Linked DNA regions of Homo sapiens: all the other regions are linked to region 4. Evidence: promoter capture Hi-C in 16 types of primary human blood cells and fetal thymus (Javierre and others, 2016). All regions are on one chromosome and are shown on one strand. Each heading gives the region's core, a stretch centred on a gene start or on the middle of the fragment in contact. The rest is flanking DNA. Distances are from core to core; before and after follow the strand shown.

Region 1 (4,149 bases), core at 678-3,177, 570 kb after region 4:
TTATCTGTACCCACATAGACTGATCTCCAAGATTATTTTCTTTTATTTTAAGATGGAGTCTTGCTCTGTTGCCCAGGCTGGAGTGCAGTGGTGCAATCTTGGCTCACTGCCACTTCCGCCTCCTGGGTTCTGATTCTCCTGCCTCAGCCTCCTGAGTAGCTGGGACTACAGGCGCCCAACACCACGCCCTGCTAATTTTTTGTATTTTTAGCAGAGACGGAGTTTCACCACGTTGGCCAGGTTGGTCTCAAACTCCTGGCCTCAGGTGATCCACCCACCTCGGCCTACCAAAGTGCTGGGATTACAGGCGTGAGCCACTGCACCCAGCCAAGATTTAATGTTATGACTGAGATAAACATGAATGAAAGCAAATCTTCAAAATATCTATGACTTGATCTCATGTATATACATTTGTGTCTGAATATACATTAGGTAGATGGGGAATGCATAGACGTGGAACAGGCAGAGCCTACCAAGTTGAGGGGACTGGACCTGAATCATTGGACGGAGGGAATTCGTAACAGAAAAGACTTTCATGTTTTACTCTGTATACTTAATTACTTTATGCTCTACCGCAACAATAATGTATTGTATATGTTTTTGTGTGTGTGTGTGTTTTCTTAGTCTTAAATTCAAAATATAAGGTAGCCCACTGGCTCTAAGCTACAAGAATCCTTATGAGTTGGGCAGTTCTTTGACAACTTTTTTTCCCACCTGGCGAAACTATCAAGGAATGTCCTACCACCAAGCGTGAGAAATTTTTGGCATTCCTGAAATAAATTCTTCTTCTGAGCCAGCTCATGTGGGCATCATAATCTCCTTGAAGGCTTTTAAAAGATTTAGATCTGAGTCTGTCTCAGATTCTCGGGCTCAGAACCAGAATTTCTCCGTCTGAGGCTACTATCTTGCTCTGGAGGAGGGAGTGAGAACTGGATCACTGGTTAGCGTGGTAACTGTTTTGGACAATTGCATAGCCACAGCCAGGAACACAGAAGGCAGAGAGGCAGCCTTGATCTGCAAGAGCTCCAGGTAATCCCAACGGGGACCCTTGATGGACAAAGGCATTCTCCCAGGCTTGGTGATGAATGTGTTCCACTTACAGCCAGACGAGACACTCACTCAGGGCTCTGCAGCAGAGAAGTTAGAGCTACAGCTTTTTTGCTTTGTGTTTTTACTAAAACTTAATTTGTTGTTGCACTTGTTGGATGGGCATGTCCCATAGGGGAAGTTTCCACTACTGTGCTCTAAACTTTGGGCTGCTTGTACCATCTTACTTATCCCCTCATTAATAATGAATTGAATAAAATCTTTAGTATATGCTAATTTCATATCTTTGCGAGAGTTACGATTTTACCTTTTCTTTTTAAAATTACCTTTTCATATTTCTATCACTCCCTTACCAGAGCAGTGAGTTTCTGGGTCTCCCTCTTAGGGGCAGACACTGTTCCATGTAATTAGAATTAATTTCTTGTTCGTAGGTAGACAGAGAAAAGCTGCCAAACTCCCAGGAGACAGGGGTTCAGATCCTGTGCTATGGCTGAGAGTGATGCCGAGGAAGACACTTCCCTCCGAGTCTTAGTCTGCCCGCCTGTGAAACTGGCTCGTAACAAACCCCTGACCCCAGGCTCGGTCGCCTTGAGCCCAAGACCTCACCCAATGCCCCCCGCCCCGCCTTCCCTCCCGGGCTCCCAGGAGGTGCGGGGACTCGGGGGGCGGCCCCTTCCTCGGGAGGCGCCCAGGTGGCACGTCGGTGCCTCAGCTCCCGGGGTCTCTGGGCTCCGCGCTGCCCACGGGGTGCCGAGGGGCCTCTGGAGGGGGCGGGTTCTCTCGAGCCAGAAAGTCCGGAGCCGCCCAGGAATTTTGGCTCGAACTGAGTGCATTTCCTCTCGGGCCGGCCGGGTGCGATCCGGGAAGGGCGGCTGCGGGCAGACGCGGCGCTGCGCTCGGCCAGGCCGGCACCATGCGGCCCCTGCTCTGCGCGCTGACCGGACTGGCCCTGCTCCGCGCCGCGGGCTCTTTGGCCGGTGAGTGGGGCGCAGGGCGCGGCAGGGGACCTGGAGCCGGGGAGACCCGCAGATGGCGAGGAAGGAATGAGCGAGAGAGACGGAGAGAGAGCTGGACACAGCAGCGAGATGGACAGAGAGGCAGATGCAGGGAGGGAGGGATGGAGAGAAAGATTGAGAGGAAACAGACTCAGAAAAAGGCAGAGAAGTAGAGCAACGGAGAGATAAAGGAGATAGGGAAGAATACACAGTGAAAAGGAAAAAGGAGAGGCTGAGACAGAAAGAGGCTTCCCCTGAACAGATATGAACTAAGATAGAAAGAAAAAGGAGTTTGAGAGACAAAAGAGAAGAAGGAAAGAGAAAAAGTGATTAAAATGGCAAGGGGTGGAGGGAGAGAGGATATTGAAGAAAAGAGAAAGATTTGAGAGAGACCAAAAAGGAGAGAGAGGGAAGCTCGATGCCCGGAGTAGAGCTGGCAAGAGAGAAGGAGCCAGGATCTGGAGTGGGAGGTCACAGCTGCTGGGTGGGGCAGCCCCGGAGGCCAGCTCCATCTCAGAGGGCCTGTGGAGGCTCAGGCCTGGCTTTATAGGACATTGCATAAGAAGCCACACTCCAAAGGATGAGTGACCCAGGCTAGCCCAGCACAGCCTTAAGGAACCAGGCAGTCGGGCCCAGGAGAAAGGCCACCGATTCACCTGCCAGGTGGCCTCAGGTGGATCTGCAGTCAGTGAAGAAGTCAGCCTCCCGGTTTCCAGGGAGCTTCTCTGGGAAACTGAGCTATGTTGGGTGGAGATGGGGGACTGGGTGGAGGTGGAGAGCTGTGCGGAGGAGAGAGGCTGTCTGGGTACTCCATTAGCTGGGTTCCTTGCTTTTCACTGTCCGCTTTCTTCCCCTCACCTACCCCTCAGGCGGGCGGATCACAAGCTCAGGAGATCAAGACCAGCCTCGCTAACATGGTGAAATGCTGTCTCTATTAAAAATACAAAAAATTAATCGGGCGTGGTGGCACATGCCTGTAGTCCCAGCTACTCGGCAGGCTGAGGCAGGAGAATCACTTGAACCTGGGAGGCGGAGGTTGCAGTGAGCCGAGATCAAGCCACCGCAATCCAGCCTGGGTGACAGAGCAAGACTCAGTTTCAAAAAAAAAAAAAAAAGAAGAAGGAAAGGAGGAAAGTATTCATGTATTAGTGTAATTTCACACTGATTTCATATATTTTTGTGCATAATCTTTCAGATTTTAGATGATATATCTTAACTTTTGATTATGAAAACTTTTGGATACAAAAAAATACAAAGTAATAGTATGTGAAAGAATCATGTAATATACTTATCAACGCTGCTTCAAGAAGTATCAGTTCATGGGCAGTTTTATCTCATCTATAGCCTCCACCCTCTCTCCCCTCCCTGGATTATTTTAAAGGAAATCCAGGCATTGTATATTTTCTTTCTTTCTTTCTTTCTTTTTTTTTTTTTTTTGAGACAGGATTTCATTCTGTCACCCATGCTAGAATGCAGTGGCACAATCTCAGCTCACTGCAACCTCCGTCTCCCGGGTTCAACTGATTCTCCTGCCTCAGCCTCCTGAGTAGCTGGGACTACAGGCACGCACCACCACACCTGACTAATTTTGGTATTTTTAGTAGAGATAGGGTTTCACCATGTTGGCCAGGCTGGTCTCGAACTCCTGGGCTCAAGTGATCCACCTGCCTTGGCCTCCCAAAGTGCTGGGATTACAGGTGTGAGCCACAATGCCTGGCCTGGCATCATGTATTTTCATCTATAAATATTTCTTTGTGTACCTCTAAGAGATAAGCACTCTTAATAAACATAACTGCAATGCTATGATCATACTCCAAAAACTGTGTGTGATTGAATATCATTAAATATTCAATCACTGTTCAAATGTCCTTGATTGATTGTGTCATATCTTTTTGCAATTCATTTGTTTGATCCAAATAAGGTTACATACACTGCATTTGGTCAATATGTCTGTTAGATCTCTTTAAATATGTAAGTCTTCTCTCCCCTTTTTTTACTTAATTTTTTGTTTTTGTTGAAGAAACTAAGTTTGTCCTGTAAAGTTTTCCACATTTAGATTTTGCTAATTGCATCCCTTTTATGTCATTTAAATACCTCCACCCCTTAT
Region 2 (3,959 bases), core at 364-2,863, 740 kb after region 4:
AATCATGCAGGCTAGAAGGCAGTAAGATAAAATATTTAAAGTCCGGGGGGGCGGGAAACGGTCAAGTATGAATTCTGTATCTGGCAAAACGATCCCCCCAAAATAAAGAAAAAATTAAGATATTCCCAGATAAATAAAAACTGAGAAAGTCTTTCACCAGTAGACATGCACTACAAGGCATGTTAATAGAGAGGCCATCAGGATGAAAGGACACTATACCATAACTTAAGCCATATTTTTTAAACGATCACACCTCTTGCTCCAGCCAGAGCTTGGGGTTAGGTCTTCACTGCCATGTGTCCTCTGTTTCGGGAGGCCTAGGTGATTCTGCCACAGCCTCCATCATTCTGTGACCTGCTGTTATTGGAAGATTTATAGCTAAGACTCCAGGACATCCCTGACTCTGAGACATGGGACTCAATATTCAGAGACGTGGCCATAGAATTCTCTCCAAAGAGTGCAAATGCCTGGCCCCTCCCCAGTGGAATTTGTATAGAGATATGATGTTAGAGAACTATAGAAACCTGGCCTTCCTGGCTATGTATTCTTTTTTTTTTTCTTTTTGAGATGCAGTTTCGCTCTTGTTGCCCAGGCTGGGACGCAATGGCACAATCTCAGCTCACTGCAACCTTCACCTCCCAGGTACAAGCAATTCTCCTGTATCAGCCCCCCAAGTAGCTTGGATTACAGACATGTGCCACCACACCCGGCTAATTTTTTCGTATTTAGTAGAGATAGGGCTTCACCATGTTAGTCAGGTTGGTCACGAACTCCTGACCTCAGGTGATCCACCGCCTCGGCCTCCCAAAGTGCTGGGATTACAGGTGTGTGACACTGCACCGGGCTGGCTATGTATTCTTATTACAACCAAGGCCTTTCACCTGAGCAAGGCATAGACGATTCATTCTAAAAAGTGACACTGGGAAGATATGGGAGCTGTGGCCTTAAAAATGTACACTTATGGAAAAATTGTGAAAGTGTGGGTGAAGGTAGAGGGCAAAAAGAACGTTATAATGTACATAGCCAATATTAGACAACTACTCATAACAAAATTTTAACTGTGAAAGGAGATCAAAAACAGAATATTACAGAAGAAGGCTCAGTTTATGTTGGCTACTTCTACAGAAGCATATGTTTCTGTAAGTAAATATCAACATCAATTTTTGAAGTCCATCTGTTGTAATGAAAATCAGAAAAACTTTAACCATGACTCAAAAATTAGTAAGCATCAGAGTACTCATTTTCTAGAAAATGATTATAAATGTAATGAATGTGGGAAAGTATTTTATTGATCCTCAAAATTTATTTTTCATCAGAGTATCCTATTCCAGAAAAGCCTGACAACTGTAATGAATATGGTAAAACTTCTAGCCAGTCCTTAAAACTTTCTCAACATCAAATAATTAACATTGGAGAGAACTCACAAAGATGTAACAAATGTATAATAGTCTTTAGTCAGTCATCACATCTAAATAGACATAAGTTAATCAACACTGGAGAGAAATCATTCAGATGTAAATAATGTGGCAAAGCTTTTACCTGGGACTCACATCTTAGACAACATCAGAAAATCCATACTGGAGAGAAACCCTTCAAATATAAAGAATGCACAAAGCCTTTAACCAATATGCACACTTTATACAACATCAGAGAATTCACACTGGAGAGAGACTTTTTAAATGTAAAGAATGTGGAAAAGCTTTAAACTGGGGCTCACAACTTACTCAACATTAGAGACTCCATACTGGAGAGAAACTTTTCGAATGTAAAGAATGTGGCAAGGCCTTTAACAGGCACTCAAACCTTACTTAGTATCAGATAATTCACCCCAGATAAAAACCCCACAAGTATAAAGAATGTGCCAATGCCCAAAACTAGTGCTCACACCTTACTCAACATTAGAAAATCAATTCTAGATAGAAATCTAATACATGTAATGATTTTGAAAAAAATATTTGCTCAAGATATATACCTTAGAAAACACCACATTATTTATGCTAAAAAACATTTTTACACATATAAAGCAGTTATCAAAGCCTTTAGCTGTTGCATAAATCTTACTTGACAGAGAGTTCCCATAGCAGAGAACCCATACAAATGTAATAAATGTGAAAAGACCTTTATCCAAAATATATACCCTAGAAAACATCAGAGTTTATGCTAGGAAGAAATTACAGGCTCAATAAATGTAGGAATGTATTTAATAAAAATTAAAGTCTAAATTAAAATCAGAAGAATCGCCCTAGAAAGAACTAAAGTAATAACACTTTGAGACATTACTCTAAATCAGAGTGGTTATTACAGAGAATAATCCAAACTCAAAATAATTAGGTAATTGTATGTTTGAAAAAAGTAAAGACATTGAATATGATTATACCTATCCATCAATGTACACTTTTTTATAATGACAGTATTTGAGATTACATGAAAAAATATTAATGTAATTAAATTCAAATTACTCTTATTTCTTTATTCCAACTGTTTTTGTAAAAGCATGTGGTCAATTGTTGCTACCTCCAACCTATGAGAGGCCCTTCTATATTAGGTAGGCATTATACACATTAACTCTCCCACAAAAGATGAAGAGCATTGACATGTACAACATATGATAAAGTGCATGTATGTTTAAATCTAAAATCTAAATCTTAAATCTAAATAAAGGTGCTCTTTTTGTTTGACTTACAGCAGTGTTTTAAGTCATGTATGAGTTCGCTGTTCAGAATATCATTGTTCCGCATTAAAGTATGGGACAGAAACACAGTATGAGACAGTTTTAGAAATATTGCTATTAATAGCAATAAACAAATCTTCACAAATATCACAGAACAGTGTAAATAACTTCCCTCTGATAAGACATAGACTAATTGTGAATTCAACTCTGTAAATGCTTGGCCTCAGTTTAAAAAATGAATGTAGCACATTTTTTCACATAGATCATGGTATCAGAATAACAAGAATGTTTGAATGTCTACAGTCTGCATTTTATCCATCAAGAAAACAGTAGATTTTGAAATGCTCTATTCAGCTATGTGTAAACTTAATTTGTTTTTTAAAAAAATAAAAATAAAATGGTTTTTAATTTTGAAAAAAGAGGCTGGGTGCGGTGGCTCACACCTGTAATCCCGGCACTTTGGGAGGCCAAGGCGGGCTGATCACGAGGTCGGGAGATCAAGACCATACTGGCTAACACGATGAAGCCCCGTCTCTACTAAAAATCCAAAAAAATTAGCCGGGCTCGGTGGCGGATGCCTGTAGTCCCAGCTACTCAGGAGGCTAAGGCAGGAGAATGGCATGGAACTGGGAGGTGGAGCTTGCAGTGAACGGAGATCACGCCACTGCATTCCAGCCTGGGTGACAGAGCAAGACTCTGTCTCAATTAAAAAAAAAAAAGAAGTAAAGATCACAGTACATATATAAATACATAAGTAAATTTAAACATATAGTCACTGCAGTGTTCATTTGTAATCCCTCTTTCTCATTTTATTTAAAAGACAAATGCATAAAACAATAATCCATGTTAATGAATATATAATGTACAAAGATGTAATTTGTAACAATAACAAAGTAAAGAGGGAAATTAAGCTCTAAAGAAGTATTATTTTTAGCCAGACAGTGCCTCATGCCTATAATTGCACCACTTTGGGAGGCTGAGGCAGGAGGATCACTTGAGGCCAGGAGTTTGAGACCAGCAAGGGCAAAAGAGCAAGGCCTCATATGTACTAAAAATTAAAAAGAAAAAAATTAGCCAGGTGTGATGGTCTGTGACTGTAGTACCAGCTACTCAGAAGGCTGAGGTGGGAGGATTGCTTGAGCCCAAGAGTTCAAGGTTACAGTAAGCTATGATCACACCACTGCACCCCAGCCTGAGTGACAGAGCAAGACCCCACCTTAAAAAAATAAAATAAAATAAAAATAAAGGAATATCATCTTTGTACACTATTGAAACTATATTAGTATTA
Region 3 (4,207 bases), core at 1,159-3,658, 510 kb after region 4:
ATAGTTTGCAGGTCAACCTTAGGTCTCTTTTTCCTTAATGTAAATGTGCACAAACACCATAATACTTCAATTTCACATAAACTCTAGTAAGTAGAGCCACCATAATACTGATGGAGTGCCCAAAGGGGGTCATTCTCCTTGTTTTCTCCTCATACTTAGATTATTTGTTTCCCAGTATTTTTTAAAGGAGGAACTGAGCTGTGGCCTAGGGCTTTTGTGGAATGGGTGGAAGTGTGCTGGTTGCAGGCAGGACTCCACGGTGTCACCCCTGAGTCATCGTTGCCCTCTTATGTGTCTCAATTTCTCTCTCTGAAGCTCTAGCACCTCTCAGAGGGCTCAAAACCTGGAGCTCCCATACGTGCTTCCTGGATGAGCCTTTTTAAAACTAATTTTGTTGGGGGTTCCCTGTAGGGCTGCTGCGCTACATGTCATGATGGGTGGGTGAACCTCACAGACACTCCCACAAGGCCCCTGGTCACCCAGGGGTGCCTTTCAGCTGGGAGGAGTAAAATGCCCTTTCTCTTTGGAGCTAAGGAAACTCAGACTCTCATTTACCTACGAAAGCAACAGTTCAGTTTCTCATTCCATATCTTATTTATCAAAAATTGTACAAGAGAAGATTATTTGTTTTCTTTTTTTTTGTTTTTTGTTTTTTGTTTTTTTTTTTGAGACAGAGTCTTGCTGTGTCCCCCAGGCTGGAGTGCAGTGGTGCAATCTCGGCTCACTGCAAGCTCCACCTCCTGGGTTCACACCATTCTCCTACCTCAGCCTCCCAAGTAGCTGGGACTACAGGCGCCCACCACCATGCCCGGCTAATTTTGGTATTTTTAGTAGAGACGGAGTTTCACTGCGTTAGCCAGGATGGTCTTGATCTCCTGACCTCGTGATCTGGCCGCCTCGGCCTCCCAAAGTGCTGGCATTACAGGCGTGAGCCAGCGTGCCCAGCCGAAGATTATTCTTTTTTAAAAAATCTAGGTAGATGTTTAATTTCCTGGTTGACAGTTGTTATTGTATTTTTTATTTTTATTGATTTATTTATTTAGAGACAGGAACTCACTCTGTCACCCAGGCTGGAGTGCAGTGGCATGATCTCAGCTCACTGCAACCTCTCCCTCCCAGATTCAAGTGATCCTCCCACCTCAGCCTTCCAAGTAGCTGGCACTACAGGCATGCACCAGCACACCTGGCTAATTTTTGCATTTTTAGTAGAGATGGGGTTTCACCATGTTGGCCAGGCTGGCCTCAAACTCCTGGTTTCAAGTGATCTGCCCACCTCGGCCACTCAAACTGCTGGGATTACAGACATAAACCACCACACGCAGCCCTGGTTGACAATTGGTTGAGTTTATCTAAATACCTGGGATCAAGAGAAAGGAATATCTGGGTTAAGGATTGTGGAGACTCAAGTTCTTATTTGCAGAGGAAGCTTTCAGGTAGTAGGCTTCAGAGAGAACAGGTTGTAAAATGTTTCTTATCAGACTTACAGTCTATGTTGATGTCAATGCCAGAAAGGTATAATGAGGCATGTCTGACTCCCACTTTCAGTCATGGCCTGAACCAGTCTCTCAGGTTACATTTTAAAAGAGCCCTGGCTGAGAAGAAAGTCCATTCAGATAGTTAGGGGGGGGCCTTAGAATATTATTTTTGGTTTATATTCATATTTCCAGAGCCTAGCACCATAACTGACACTACACTGGTCTTCAGAAATTAAATTTTATTACTATTTTATTTTATTTTATTATTTTTGAGATGGAGTCTTGCTTTGTCACCAGGCTGGAGTGCAGTGACGCAATCTTGGCTCACTGCAACCTGTGCCTCCCGGGTTCAAGTGATTCTCCCGCCTCAGCCTCCTGAGTAGCTGGGACTACAGGCACGCGCCACCACACCCAGCTAATTTTTGTATTTTTAGTAGAGGCGGGGTTTCACCACATTGGCCAGGATGGTCTCCATCTCTTGACCTCATGATCCGCCCGCCTCAGCCTCCCAAAGTCCTGGGATTACAGGCGTGAGCCACCGCGCCCAGCCGGTCTTCAGAAATATTTCTTGACTATTTGAGTGAATGATTCCTTGGTTTCCCTACCTAAAAAATGTAGCATTTTCCTTCTCCATTCTCATTATACTGTTTCAATAATTTTTCTTCTTCTCCTCCTTCCTTCCTTCCAATTTTACCTCCATCCAATGTACACAAGATATGTTCACTCCACTAGTTAAAACAAACAGAGCAGGTATGGTTGCTCATGCCTGTAATCCCAGCATTTTGGGAGGCCAAGGTGGGAGGATAGCTTGCGCTCAGGAGTTCAAAACCAGCCTGGGCTACATAGCGAGACCCTATCTCTATTAAAAATAATAATAATAATAATAATAATAATAATAATAATAATAATTAGCTCAGCATGGTGGCCCAAGCCTGACCTGTAGTCCCAGCAGTTTGGGAGGCTGAGGCAGGAGGATCACTTGAGCCCAGGAGTTCAAGACCAGCTGGGCAACATAGGGAGACTCGTCTCTACAAATAATAAATACATTAATTAAATAAAACAAACAGAATTTCACTGACTCACCTTGGCTAAGGGATCAAATCAAAACCCCTCGGTTTGATACCAAATGCCATTCATGATCAGGACTCCACCTGTCTTTGCAGCCTCAACTTCCTTCACTCAATTTCTTCACATTGTTTTTTTCTAGCAACAAAAAATTTCTCCTAATTCCCTGGACACACAATATTCTATTCAAATTTCTGTAAATTTGTTTAGGTCGCCCTTCCCCCATCCTATAATCCTGGGAAGGTGTGGGAGTTTTTTGCTGTATCTCAGCACTTGTCCATCCTATAGCCACCTCATCATAACTCCCCAAGGAGGACTACTTATTAATACCTCTGTATCTCTTGATACTGCATCATTTGTGTATTTGTGTTTGGGAGTGGACAGTATTATTTAAAATATTTTTTCTGGAATAGATAACTAATTGCCCCAAAATAATTTACTGAATAATCCATTATTCCTTCCTTAATTTGAAATGTTACCTTTATTATAAAATAAACGCTTGGATATGTATATACCAGATCCATGTCTGGAGTCTGCATTATTTTTTCATTGATCCATTTGTTGATTTCTGCATGTCAAGTGCCAAATGTTTTACATTATTATAGCTCTTTACAGTGTGTCTTGATATCTAGTAGGCCAATCTTATGAGGAAAAACAATGTTATTTTTGCTTTATTTTGCGTATCCCATAGGGCCATTAAGATTGAACCATCCTTTCATTTTGCTTGGTCTCAAGTTTTCTCTTTTGAGGATGCCCAATTCATATCCTTTAATCATTTGTCAATTACATATATTGGAGAATTCCTTCTTCCAGGTATTTCAACTTTATTTACAGTGTCATTCATATGAATGAAGCTTTTCATCTGGATGCAGTTAAATTTTCAATCTTTCCTTCTATGGCTTTTAATTTTAATAACTTGCTAAAAGGTTTCCTTCCCCTCCCTCAAAAGTTGTAAAACTATTCTCCCAGACTTTCTTCATTATTTTTCATATTTAGGTCACTAATCCATCTAGACAGGGGGATAAAAATGTCCAGGGATGAGATATTTCTCTGCCAATTCAGATGGGACAGCAGTGTAGGGTGCCTGGACCTTAGAGAATTCAGTCACCCCTGCCGTGTGTGAAGGGTGACTGTAATGAAGAAAGGAATGCCTTCTGAACATCCAGTTGACTGTAAGTTCTTCATGAATTTACATAAACTACTCACATCTGAACAAAGATCTTCTGGTACTGTCTTCTGGATTCCTTATCTGTGCGTGAGGGGCTAACAGTAAGATGTTTAGTGTTGAGCTGTTGGTGGCCAGGTACAGCCTCTAACTATAATCCCAGCACTTTGGGAGGCTGAGGTGGAAGGATTACTTAAGGCTGGGAGTTTGAGATCTGCCTGGGCAACATAGTGAAGCACCGTCTCTATTAAAAAAAAAAAAAATAGTGTGGAGTTGGAAGACATAGGACACTAAGTAACAGGCTGGGCTCCAAGCAGGGTTGTAGAAGACATGAAACTAAAACCTAGCTCCCTGTAGTCTGTTGACTGAAGCCATTTTGCCTCTCCAACATTTCTTGTAGCATGAATAATTTCTCCAATATCTCCCTCGTTGCAGATTTAATACCTAAATAGAAATACTGAAAAACGGCAGCCTAAAATTGGGGAAGTTCTTGAAACTTTTG
Region 4 (3,929 bases), core at 238-2,737:
TCCACGCTCTCCAGGGACACCAGGGGCTCCAGGCAGCCCATTATTCCCAGGAGGACATGGTGTTTCTCCAGGCGGACCCATGGGGCCTGCAGAGAAAAGAGACATGGATGTGTAGGATCTGTCACCCACAACTGGTTGGAGCTAGTGAGACTCGATGCCCATTATCACCGGGGCTGGCTCAGCTATCACTCCGTGGGCACTATGAGGACAGACTCTCCAGGATGCGCCATCATAAGGGCCCCAGGAACCCACCACCCCTGCAGACTGAAGTCCCACCCAGCTTACTATAGCCCCCAGCTCACTATGGCCCACAGCCTAGGGGCCTGGACAGATGGGCCTCCTGAAAAGGGGTCTGTGTCCCTCAGCTGAGGGTGGGGTCTGCAGCACAGTACCTGGAGGGCCAGGGTCTCCTTTGACACCATCTCTCCCGTCCCTGCCTGGCAGGCCGTGGGATCCAGGAGTGCCGGGGATACCAGGGCTTCCAACACAAACGTCCTTCACTTCGCACGCAGCACCAGAGGCTGCCATCAAGATGAGGGTGAGGGCCAGAGGGCACAGCCACATGGCTCTGGGTCCAGTCGCTGCTCCTGCCGGAGGGATGGCCGTGAGCCCATCTGCCACCTCTGCCAACATCTCCCCCACTGTGCTCTGTCAGGACTCAGGAAGCTGGGCAGAGCCCGAGAGGCAGGGCGGGCGAGACCAGAGTGCTGGGAAGACCCGAAGCACCCGGGAAAATTCCAAGCATCACCTGGCACCTGGCATGGCCTCATGCTTCAGGCCTCCGGCTGGAGGTTGTGGGGTCTCAAGACTGCTGAGGAGGAGGAAGAGTAAGGAGCTCTGGGGAGCCCAGGGACCTGGGCTCCAGTGCAGTCTCCTTTCTTTCAGTGCCTCACTATGTTACCCTGGGAAACTGGCTTCACCTCTCTGATTTCAGCTGAATCTTCCATGCTCTGCAGAAAACCTGCCCTGTCCCTCCCAGGCTGTTAGAAGGAAGGATGAGGTCACTCACTCACTGACTCACTCCATCTGTCCCTCATATGCCCAGTTACCTTCTTTTCAGGCTCCAAGAAATCAGCGACCTGAGAATGAAAAGAGATGAATAGGGCCCACAGCCTGGACCCTTCAAGGTGATCATCGGGGGGTGATGACCCTCTCACAGTCAGTGATGAGGTCTTCCTTCCTCTTGGGGTCTGTTCTCCCACTCCCCCTGCTTAGGCCCTGCTGAGTCCCTGGTAGGGATGGATCTGGCCAAGGAAGATATCAAAGCATGAGGGTCTTTGTAGGTCATCCATGTTGACCATGCTGTGAAACACCTCCCAGTGGAAAATGGGGAGTTGCCCTCCTTCCCAACCTGGGCCTTGGTCAGGCCTGTGGCTGCTGGGCTGGTCCTCTCTGCCTGCGATCCTCAAGCTGGAGAACACCTAGGGGATGTGGCTAAACTCACCCACACACAGAGCCTCCAGCTGCTTGGGTCTCTGCCTCCAAGTTAGAGCATAAAGGTGGACAACAGAATTTATAGCATGTGGGCTGCCAGGCTTCTTCCCCACCCCTGAGAGCTCTACCACAAAACCTGTTCTCCAAGCAGGAAATAGGCATAGTGTTTACACAGCACATTTCCCTGCAGAACACTCAGGCTGCAGGAATACTTAGGACCCTTGAGGGGAGCACAGAACCTGGTAAAGAAAAATACCAGGTCTGTAAGAAGAGAAATGCCTCACTGGCTAAGGTCACCCACTCTGCACTCAGGGAGCTCCACTGGGTTCCTGGTTTAGTTTCAGACAATGAAGAAGTCACTGCTTCAGCTGAGGTTGGTCAGGTTGATCCAGGCCAACCTGTCTGCCCTGTAACCTTGCTCAGCTCTGAGCCCCAGGACCCCCAGCCAGTGTCTCTGGAGCCTGCAGCCGAGTTGGTGGGCACATGGACAGAGTGGCAGGCAAATATGCTGCACGTTCCACTTCCCTCTGCCCTAGCAGGTTCAGCTGGAGGAGTCAGGGCAGCACCTGGAAGGTCATGGGAGAGCTGCAGTTTCTGTCTTTGGTAGAACATCACTTTGGGTGATGTCTGGCAACCTGCAATGGTGATTATGCTAAGTGTCCCAGTGATATATGAAGCCCTAGTTGTTAGGGTCCTGGTTTGAGCATCTGGATTAGGAGGGAATCTCCAACTGTGGAGGTGGTAATGATGGGAACCCAGACAGGAAAATCTCCCCTGGCTTATTTGGAATTGGTTTGAAAAATCCCAAACCATTGAGGAGTTTGGAGCTCTTCCAGGGAGCGGAAGCTCAGACAACGGACCCCACTCCCAGGAGCAGGAAGCTGGGCAGTGCCAATTTGTAGCATGGAGTCTTTCAGCTGCCCCAGTGCTGTCTGCCACACCATGTGGTGGGTGCTGGGCCAGGTGTGGAATGGGGGAGTCAGGCCAGTGCAGGTTGGGGGCAGGTGGGGCGAAGCTCCAGCAACTTGGCTGTGGGGAGGCAGGGCTGTTTTGCAGGTGATGAGCAGGAACAGAGGCCAACTTGGATGTGCAGGGCCTTGTGGTTGGCAGGGCAGGGCATGGCTTTAGGGGAAAGGCACACCTGAGTTTTGACCCAGAGCTGTCACTTATTAACCAGGTGGCCTTGGTCAGTTTCATTTTTCATTTTATTATTCTGAAACAACATCAAAATTACAGAAAAATTGCCAGTATCGTACGACTTTTTTTTCCCCTGAACCTATGAGAGTAGGTTGTCAACATGAAACCCCAACACCCCAATACTTTAATGTGTTTTTCACGCAAAGGCATTTTTGCATTATAACCGTAATCAAGAAATAAACACGGATACAATAACTCCAAATAGCCTTCAGGCCCTATGCAAAATGTACACAATGCCCCAATAGTGTCCTTTATAGCAAAGGATCCGTTTCTGAGCCATGTGCCTTATTCGGTTGTCACGCTTCTCCAGGGTCCTGAAACCCACAAAGTCCCTCTGTCTTCCCTTCACCTTCATGACCTGAACACAGTGTGAAGATCACAGGGGAGTTACTGTGTAAAATACCCCTCACTTTGTTTGTTTGTTTGTTTGTATTGCCTTACAGTTAGATTCAGGTTCTGTAACTTCGGCAGAAATACCATCGACACCCGGCTGCGCTCTTCTCCCATTCTACCCGGCAGCATGTGACTTTAGTTTGCCCCAAGACTGATGATGTTCGTGTTGATCATTTAATTAAGGTGGTGGGTGTCACAATTTGCCACTGCAAATTTATTCTTTTTCTGATTTTAATCAGTGACTATGTTGTGGGGACGCACTTTGGGACTATTGTAAAGATCCCATCCCTCATCACGCTCTTTGTTGCCCTTTGATTGATTTGTAGCAATGTGGACTCGTGAGTGAGGCTTGCCACCGACCGCCAGGGGGAACCATGCACTCGCCTGCGTGCTGCAAGGGACACTATCCGAGTTTGATGTTGAGACAGGTACAGTTTACCAGCACATGGCACCAGCAAATCTAAAGAATGTAGTTAAGAAACACAAGCTTGTCATTCTTAGCACTAAGAATTGCTGCAGTCCCTGCTGAGTTCCGAGTGTCCAAGCCAGGCCACTCTGCCGCGTCCACAGCCTCCTCCCCCTGCTCAGGCCCCATTGCCCTGGCCGGTCCGCTCTCCTTCAGTGCCCTTCTCACTCTCCTAGGGGCTTCAACCCCCATGCTGGGCCACCTCCCTCTGCGGGGACATCCTCTTCACACTGCCAGGCCCTGGGTGCCCACGCGAAGCCACCTCAGAGTCCACAGTCTCACTGCACTCCGAGTCCCACTCCCTGTGGCAGGACCCCCTCCTCACCCAGTGTGACTGAAACCAGGAAGACGACGCTTTTTAAGACTGAAGGGGCACAGAGTGGGAGCCATGCACCGCCCTAAGAACAGCCCACGGGGGTCTCTGCAGATTCGAGACCTC
Region 5 (4,428 bases), core at 1,599-4,098, 720 kb after region 4:
TCGCAGGCCAGCTGGCGAGGGGCCTCCTGGAGCCCCACAGCAAGTCTGCACCCCCTGAGACTGGAGCTGGCCCGCGGTCCTGCCTGTGGCAGGGAAGTGAGGCTGACTCTGGTATCTGTATTGGCATTTTCGAGACAATCCTTCAAAGGAAGGGAACCCCTAAAAGAGCCCATCCCACCCTCCCTTCCTTGCTGACCCCTAAACCTAGAAACCTTCTATTTCATATCTAAGCACAATGAACCTGTTTCAGCAGGTCCAGTAGGTGGTCCCTCTGTTCCTCTCTCTTGCACAAGGAAGAGAAAAAACAGTCAGAGCCACTGGCTACCTCCCCTCCCTGTTCTAAGATTTCCCCTTCTGTGAATCTTCACCCTGCTTCTATATCGCAGCACCATTCCAGTCCAGGACAGGACAGGCAGGCCGACATCATGGGCCCCTTTCTTTGGGTGCCATCACGATCTACATGTTTTAGCTCTCCTAACTCACAACCTCCAAGAACACCCAAGGAATGCTGATGGTTCCCATCCCCACCTTGGGGGGTCATGTGGATAACACAGGAAGTCCCAAGGAAGGGTTCCCTTTGGGCATAAGCACACTTCCCTGCCCCAGTACAGCCAGTATGCAACCTCTGCCCTGTGCATGGTCTGACACTTGCACAAGAAGGAACTCCATCTCTGTACAACTGGAGTTGTACATGGAGCCACACACAGCACGCTGAGCTATAACACCATGGGTGCCAGATTCCAAGTGCAGGACAAGAGAAGGCGCTGGCGCTGTCTGCTAGTGGCCAGGGATGGCATCCCAAAAGAGGTAGAACTTTGCTGGCCACTGAAGGAGAGGTGAAGACCAGAGAGGGAGCTCAGGTAAAGCAAAGCCCTAAGAAACAAGGGGACAATGAGTGAAATGATGTCGATTAAGCAAAGATGGTGTGGGGCAGGCAGAGGCAGGTAAAGTTGGAAGACCATAAAAGGTTGTGAATGCCAGAATAATAAGTGGATTTCCCCCTTCCCCTTGTAGGAAGCCCAAAGTTGTAGAAAACACTGAATAGATGTTAGGGAATTAAAAATGAGGCCTAAAGGGGATTAGCTGGAATTTCCAAGCAGGGAGTACCTTTGGAAGGATAGGCCACTGATCCTGGCCTGGCTGGGATGATGGCAGCCCTGGGGAAGGCTGAGCTGGAGCGAGAGGGGTGCTTGATGGGGTAAACTGGGGACATGGGTAGGTGGAGAGAGATGGCGCTGAACAGGACGGGGGAAGGGCAGGAGGGAGGTGGCAGGGTGCTGCACACGGCAGGCTCTCAGGGCCCATCTGCTTGGAGGGTGATCAGAGAAACCCACAGGTGGGAGTATGTGAAGGTGACAATGGGGTCCACGAGCATGGACACAGGGAGAGAAGTTGTGCAGTATGAAGTGCTGGGAACTTGGGAATCATGAGAGGGCTCATTGGGGTTAAGCAGGGAGGGGATACAGGGGTGAGGTGCCAGGAGGCCTGCGTCTCCACTAACACTTGAATCACCTCAGCCTTCAAATATAGGCCTTGGGTTGATTTCAACACTGCAGGGAGAAGACAGGTCAGGGCCCATGGGTTTGGAGCTGGAAACAACAGACGTAAAGCCTTTTCATGAGAAACAAAGATGAGAAAAAGGGTCATGATGAGACAGACAGCACAGACAGACAGCACAGACACAGCACAGACAGCGCAGACACAGCACAGACAGACAACACAGACACAGCACAGACACAGCACAGACAGCCTGTTCAGGACAAAGAGGCCTGAAAATATGGAAGCCAGTTAAGTATGTTTGTGGCAGGATTTGGGGACTCATTAGTCAATGTTTACTAATGAGCAAACAAAAAAAACGGAACTATTCTTTTCATTTCTCTGTATTTTTGAAATTTTTTATAATAAAATGTTGTGGGAAGCATCTCTAGCTGAAGATTTTTCACATAAATAGTTCTTTTCAAAACTGACCATTCTTTGAATGCCCAGATTGAATATTTCGATCTTAAAAATGACACAATCAAGAATCAAGAGGATTTGGGGGTATTAAAGCTTCTGTCTAGGGCTCTCCTGGGGTAATTCAGCTGCTCACCTGAGTCTTAGAGTCAGGCCGCAGCCAGGGGAGGAGGCCGGAGCGCCTGAGGTCTGCCATCCGGGCGTTGAGCTTGTGAGCAAGGATGATGGTGAGGGGCATGCACTCCTCTGTCTCGTCGGTAGCATAGCCGAACATCAAACCCTGTGGCGAGAGAGCAGGCTGAGCGGCGCCCACCCTAGACCAAGAGGACCGCAGCTCTCTCCAAGCCTGAAATCTCCCTGGTGTGTCCACGTTGATTGGGTGCCTCCTCCATGGAGCTTTCCACTGGCATGTGCAGGGGAAGGACGTCATCCCTGACCCCCAACACTCTAGGAGGGGGAGACAAGCCCAAACCCAGTGTCAGCAACCACAGCCATCCACAGCACGGCCGTGAAGCTGGGGTTCCCAACTCGCTCCTGGCTATCGTGCTAGGACAAGAATCCACCCCTCAGTGTGATTAACCCACTGCTCATGAACTTTCCCAGCCAGCTCAACACACAGCTCCCACATGCAGTGCCGAGCTACCTGATCTCCTGCCCCCACATCCTCCTCATTTCTGTCCAGATGGACGCACTGGGCAATATCTGGGGATTGCTGCTCCAAAGCCACCAGCACGTTGCAAGTCTTGAAGTCAAAGCCTAGGCGGAAGCAAAGTGAGCCTAAGTGGGGAACAGGTCAGAAGGAGGGGGCCACAAACTTCCCAATGGATGGCTCGGTTCCTGACATGCCATTTGGTGTCAGCGTGGGGGTTCCCTAACTAGCCAGGGTCTGTCTAGGCCCACAGCTGAGGCCCAGGATGGGAGAGGCCCCGCACCTTCCCACCCTATCATGTAGAACTCTTTGGCCAACCAAAATTCTCCGTGGTGCATTTTACTGTGCTCAATTAGACCTTGGTTAACACACACACACACATCCTACAGAGACCTGCAGATTAAAACAAGGTGATGCCAAGGCTCCTCTGGCTGAGGACGGTGGCTGACTCATACCCTGCCCCTCAGGCTCTCCCACAGGTGCCTCCCAGAATCTAGTTTGAGCATCACTGCACTAGGAGAAAATCAAGAGCCCTTTTGATACTGTCACTCAGAAGCCCAGCTGTATGCCTGACACAACTATTAAACATACTGAACAAATACAGTGTACATGAACTATCCAGACAGACTCCCCAAGCCAGGGTCCTCTGACCCTGAGAGGTACACAGAGTCTGGGGCAAATGGAAAAGCCACCTGCCCTTTCCCATCTACAAAGCTGAGGCACAGGGTGCAGGCCTGCTACACCTAGCACGCGAGGCACTGGTTTGGGGAAGTCTGGACTAGCAGTAGCTCAGCCCTGGGAGTCCCATGAGGAAACTGCTATGCACCGAGACCGTGCGCACCTCCTCACAGCTGTGCTGGGCTCAGTCACAGGGACTGTGAGAATAAGGGACTGAATACATGGACGCCCCCACCACAAGGTCAAGCATAGTGACACACTCACTCTCCAAACCCCCACAGCCATCTTCCTTCCCATCTATTCTCCTACCCACACAGCCTGAAAGGGCTTACAGAGAAAACACACAGATCCAAGCTGCTGTTTCTGTACAAGCTTCAGGTGGGGATCTACTGCCAAGGAATAAAACTGAAGCTTTTCAGTCTGACACAGCCCTTGCTCCTGGGACTCCTTGAGCCAACATGAACTCAAGTTTAGCCATCAGCATGATATACTTTTCCATCTCCACTAGGTCCCTGCCTAGAACGTTCTACCTCCAGCTCCCACCCCACATGCCCAAACCCCACGTCCACTCTCAGTGCATGTCCCTGGACCTGCCTGCAGTTCATTAGACACAATGCCAGGAACTTACCCCAGGGCACCTCATGTTGCATCATATACCCTGGGAGTATCAGGTCACCTTTGCCCTTTACACCCTCCTGTTTCCTAATGAATGTTTTTGAATGCACAAATCAATGAACAGTCTTTAAAGAACTGCCAAAAGCTGTCCTGTTCTGCACTGAACATTTCAGTTTACCTAATCACTGTCTGTCTAAATAATGAATCTCCCCAGGGCTCAAAAATCAAGCAAGGGCTCCAAGGAATTTGGAAAAACAGAACTTAGGGGACCAAGAGGGGAGGTACAGGACTTGGAAAGGACAATGAGCCCAGCAACACCGCAGCCAGGAGCAACGAGGAGCCACTGGCCTGAGACCCTGCTAAGGCTGTTCCTGTCCACTGAGCACAGGTAAATGGACAAGCTTGGGCACAGGGAACCTCAGCCAGCTGAGCTCAACTCAGCCACGGCTGGGCTCTCGCTCATTTCTCCCTTTCTAGGGAACATTGCCTCCTGGAAAATTTCCCTCCTGCCTAATGCAGAAAAAGTTTTGCAC
Region 6 (4,083 bases), core at 1,396-3,895, 540 kb after region 4:
GGGCAGCCTTTACATTCTGCTCTTGTTCCCTCAAGCTGCCTTGAGAGAGACAGTCATCAGCCTGACTCCTTCAGCATGACAGTTAACATAGTGCCCGGAGCAGTGTCCACCCATATCAGCAACACAAACTCCGCAGGGGCATGGGAGAGAGTTCACAAAAATAGACGCAGACAGCCCTCAGGTAGTTCCTCCACCGGTGCTTCCAACCAAATCGCCAGGATTGTGGATTATCTTACTTTCTCCTAAGGGTTTAAAAGTGAAAATTCCAGCCAAAGGAGCGACTAGTGGATTGGTGGTCGCTGGATTCTCAATCCTTACATCGCTGGGACCAACATAGGTGAAACTGTCCTTGGCCCCTCTCAGTACGTATGATCAGACTTTTTCCCAAGGGAAAACGAGCCCACAGCCAAATAACTGGACAGCTGGGGAGGACAAGTCTCCACAAGCAACACGTATCATCTGATCACACATGTTGAAGCAGAAGGACCCAAAATCTAAAAATGCTCCTTAAATACGAGGCAAGAGAAAATGTTAGTAATATGCAGCAAAAACAAGACATCCTAAAAAAAAAAAAAACTAAGTGAAAATATTAGGTAGGAAAAATAAAATAGTTAAAATGAAGAATTCGATAAATGGAAATAGCACAAATGAAATAGAATGGATATAGCTGAAGAAATAATATGTGAACACACGATTGTGGCAGTCTCACAATAAGACTAAAACATGAAATAGAAAAGAAAAGCTTGGAAATGTGGATGATAAACATTAAAGTGCAAACACCTGAGCAATAGTTCCAGCTGGAGTAAGAAATAAAAATAAAGTGGAGGAACTACTTGAACAAATAATGGAGATACATTTCCAAAAAATGACCTTATTTGAAAGGACTTATAAAGAGACAATAAGAGATCAGGAAAAATCAATTCCTAGGTACAACTATAAAATTTAAAAATAATAAGTAAAAAAAAAATATAATAAGTAAAAATAATGAGGAGACTGGGCACAGTGGTTTATGCCTCTAATACCAACACTCTGGGAGGCCAAGGCAGGAGGATCACTTGAGGCCAGGAATTCAAGACAAGCCTGAACAACATTTTGAGACACTATCTATCTCTACAAAAAAAAATAAGGCTGGGAGCGGTGGCTCATGCCTGTAATCCCAGCACTTTGGGAGGCCGAGGCAGGTGGATCATGAGGTCAGGAGATTGAGACCATCCTGGCCAAATGGTGAAACTTCATCTCTACTAAAAATACAAAAAATTAGCCAGGCATGGTGGCACGCGCCGGTGGTCCCAGCTACTCGGGAGGCTGAGGCAGGAGAATCACTTGATCCTGGGAGGGGGAGGTTGCAGTAAGCCAAGATCGTGCCACTGCACTCCAGCCCGGGCGACAGAGTGAGACTCCATCTAAAAAAAAAAAAAAAAAATTAGCTAGTCATGGTGGCACTTGGCTGTAGTCCTACCTACTTGGGAGGCTGAGGCAAGAGGATCACTTTAGCCCAGGAGGTCAAGGCTGCAGTGAGCTGTGATCACACACCACTGCACTCCAGCCTGGGCCACAGAGTGAGACCCTCTCTCAAAATAATAATAATAGTAATAAAGACAAGGAGAAAGTTCTAAAAGCTTCCAAAGAGAGAGCAGATCACCTCCAAAGGAATGACAATGAGATAGACATCAAATAGCTACATGAGATCCTGGGAGGCAGTGTAGTATAATGGTTAACTGTAACTACATAGTAGTTATAAAGTATTAGGAGACAGTAATTTTGAGGGTAGAATTTTATTTTATTTTATTTTTTATTTTTTTGAGACAGAGTCACGCTCTGTCACCCAGGCTGGAGTGCGGTGGCGAAATCCTGGCTTACTGCAAACTCCACCTCCCGGGTTCAAGTGATTCTCCTTCCTCGGCCTCCTGAATAGGTGGGATTATAGGCGCCTGCCACCATTCCCAGCTAATTTTTGTATTTTTAGTAGAGACGGGGTTTTACCATATTGGCCAGGCTGGTCTGGAACTCCCAACCTCAGGTGATCCACCTGCCTTGGCCTCCCAAAGTGCTGGGATTACAGGTGTGAGTTACCACGCCTGGTCTTGAAGGTAGAATTTTATATTCAGCCAAATTATCATACAAATGGGAGAGAGTGATGGGAAGAATCACCTGCATTCAAGGGCTCAGAGCACTTGCCACACACAGACCCACACTAAAAACACTTTTGGAAGAAGATCTCAAAAAATGAAAGGAAAAAAAACCCAGGTAATGCTGCAGGAGGCAAAGGGGAAGAAGAGAGGAGAGAGTCATCAAAGAAAAATAAAAAGAGAGATAATAATGTTTTCAAAACAACCCTGGTTTAGAACTATATTTGTTCCATATAACCTCCATAGTGGCACATGTATGTGTGCATGTGTGTGTGTGGTGGGATCAGTGGGGGGGTATAAATTAACTGGGCAGGAGAGCAATGCTGAATTAGTTGCATTTTTTTTTTTTTTTTTTTTTTTGAGACAGAGTCTTGCTCTATCACCCAGGCTGGAGTGCAGTGGCACAATCTCAGCTCATCGCAGCCTCCGCATCCTGAGTTCAAGCAATTCTCCTGCCTCAGCCTCCTGGGTAGCTGGGATTACAGGCACATATTACTACTCCTGGCTAATTTTTGTATTTTTAGTAGAGATGGGGTTTCACCACGTTGGCCGGGCTTGTCTCGAACTCCTGACCTCAAGCAATCTGCCCGCCTCGGCCTCCCAAACTGCTGGGATTATAGGCGTGAGCGCCCACGCCCTGGCCTGTACTGGCTGCATTATTAAGGGCAATATAGATGCTAATAAATGTAAGAAAGCAACTGGAATAAATAAACATGAAATGAGGAATTCAATGCAACTACCATAAGAATAAAAATAGAATCTATGTATAATTGTTTCTATTTGGAAAAAATTATTTTTCCTTTACTTCTTGACAATTTTCCAACAAGAGCTAAGTTGCCCACATTCCATGTTGCTGTCTTGGAGTGGGGAGAAATCTGTCTTCAAGAGAGCGTGAGAGCCAACTGGATCTGCATGGTGTGTGAACAAGACGGGTTACAATAGAAAAACAAAGTCCAGGCTGGCCACTTAGCGTAGCTCATCTTGGATGCCTCCAAAAATCTCTAAATGCTGCTCAACTTAGCCAGAATTGTGTTAAACAACACAGGATAAGAGATGAAATCATGTTTGAGCTCCACTTGTAATCAGAATGCCGGAAGGGATGGCAGAAATCTCCTCCCCCAACTCCCGCCATGGAGGGAGCTAGGTCATATGAAGGAAGGCAACCACCAATGACACCCAGCTAGCTAATTTGGTGACAGACCTAGGTCCTTGACACCTTGATATTTCACCAAGCTGCCTGTCAGTGGTGTCGGGTGAAACATCCAAAGTAATGTTCTCAACAGCATGCCTCACCTCCCAAATATTTTACAAATATTATCCAAGAATGATGTATTAAGAGTGAGAGTAGTTTCTGTGATTGTTAACTGCCTTAAACCCCCACATCCTGTTCATGTTACTGGCGTCTGCCTTTGATACTGTATCCATAGCAATGTGCAAATATTGTAAACACTCTGCTGACCCAGGGGTTTTCTTGCCATTGGCTGAAGGTGCAGCACTAATATGTTGCACATGTACACAGAATGGCCGTAGTTACAGCATTTATGAAGCTTTGACATCTGCACAGCCAGAGAGCTTGCTGGCTTACGTTCTGCATATCAGAGTATTTCCTAGGAAACTGAAAATAAATACATTATGAAATTTCAATTTTCAGTGTGTCACTAGTGTTGTTCTGGCGTCCTGTCATGCCTGCTGCAAAACACACTTTGACCAGGAAGGGATGCCTTATGAAATCTCATTATATCCTTTCAATCTGCAGAAGTCCCACAGAATTCCTTCTGTGTTAATAACAGGAAGATCCAACATGAATTAAAAACTCACTATGTGCTGGGTGTTATGCTAGAGCCTTGCTTGCATTCTTTCATTTAATTATCACTTTAAACCCTAGGAAGTAGGTGCTGCTAACCCATTTTTCCCAGTTAGAAAACGGGGGCCGGCCAGATGCGGCGGCTCACAC

What was found. The method cuts DNA at HindIII sites, captures the fragments that hold promoters and counts their contacts. A CHiCAGO score of 5 or more calls a contact.
Region 1: the fragment with the promoter of PLAC9 here is called in contact with the fragment with the promoter of SFTPA2 in region 4 in 15 of 17 cell types (M2 macrophages, M1 macrophages, erythroblasts and 12 more); the score reaches 27.4 in M2 macrophages.
Region 2: a contact is called between a fragment that was not itself captured here and the fragment with the promoter of SFTPA2 in region 4, in 1 of 17 cell types (M1 macrophages). The highest score is 5.5, in M1 macrophages.
Region 3: a contact is called between a fragment that was not itself captured here and the fragment with the promoter of SFTPA2 in region 4, in 3 of 17 cell types (erythroblasts, M2 macrophages and M1 macrophages). The highest score is 6.5, in erythroblasts.
Region 5: a fragment that was not itself captured here is called in contact with the fragment with the promoter of SFTPA2 in region 4 in 2 of 17 cell types (M1 macrophages and M0 macrophages); the score reaches 9.8 in M1 macrophages.
Region 6: a contact is called between a fragment that was not itself captured here and the fragment with the promoter of SFTPA2 in region 4, in 2 of 17 cell types (M2 macrophages and endothelial precursors). The highest score is 7.9, in M2 macrophages.

Annotation. Positions count from the first base shown.
Region 1 is chr10:80,130,803-80,134,951 of GRCh38, forward strand. It overlaps PLAC9 (placenta associated 9), which reads left to right and starts at 1,928. Exons shown (of 4, transcript NM_001012973.3): 1 at 1,928-2,024. The coding sequence starts at 1,961. The HindIII fragment of the contact is 6,415 bases long and covers 1-4,149 here.
Region 2 is chr10:80,297,334-80,301,292 of GRCh38, forward strand. It overlaps the pseudogene ZNF519P1. Among named protein-coding and RNA genes, the nearest start is that of MAT1A, 9.7 kb to the left of the region's middle. The HindIII fragment of the contact is 167 bases long and covers 1,531-1,697 here.
Region 3 is chr10:80,071,397-80,075,603 of GRCh38, forward strand. The region is part of intron 1 of TMEM254-AS1 (TMEM254 antisense RNA 1); the gene reads right to left. Among named protein-coding and RNA genes, the nearest start is that of TMEM254, 5.2 kb to the right of the region's middle. The HindIII fragment of the contact is 1,968 bases long and covers 1,425-3,392 here.
Region 4 is chr10:79,558,920-79,562,848 of GRCh38, forward strand. SFTPA2 (surfactant protein A2) reads right to left here and starts at 1,488. Exons shown (of 6, transcript NM_001098668.4): 1 at 1,445-1,488; 2 at 1,050-1,079; 3 at 393-587; 4 at 1-86. The coding sequence starts at 564. RefSeq lists an enhancer at 3,169-3,682. The HindIII fragment of the contact is 5,002 bases long and covers 1-3,509 here.
Region 5 is chr10:80,278,084-80,282,511 of GRCh38, forward strand. MAT1A (methionine adenosyltransferase 1A) reads right to left here. Exons shown (of 9, transcript NM_000429.3): 4 at 2,597-2,709; 5 at 2,090-2,233. Among named protein-coding and RNA genes, the nearest start is that of MAT1A, 9.4 kb to the right of the region's middle. The HindIII fragment of the contact is 1,603 bases long and covers 2,048-3,650 here.
Region 6 is chr10:80,101,071-80,105,153 of GRCh38, forward strand. No RefSeq gene overlaps it. Among named protein-coding and RNA genes, the nearest start is that of TMEM254-AS1, 24 kb to the left of the region's middle. The HindIII fragment of the contact is 2,057 bases long and covers 1,618-3,674 here.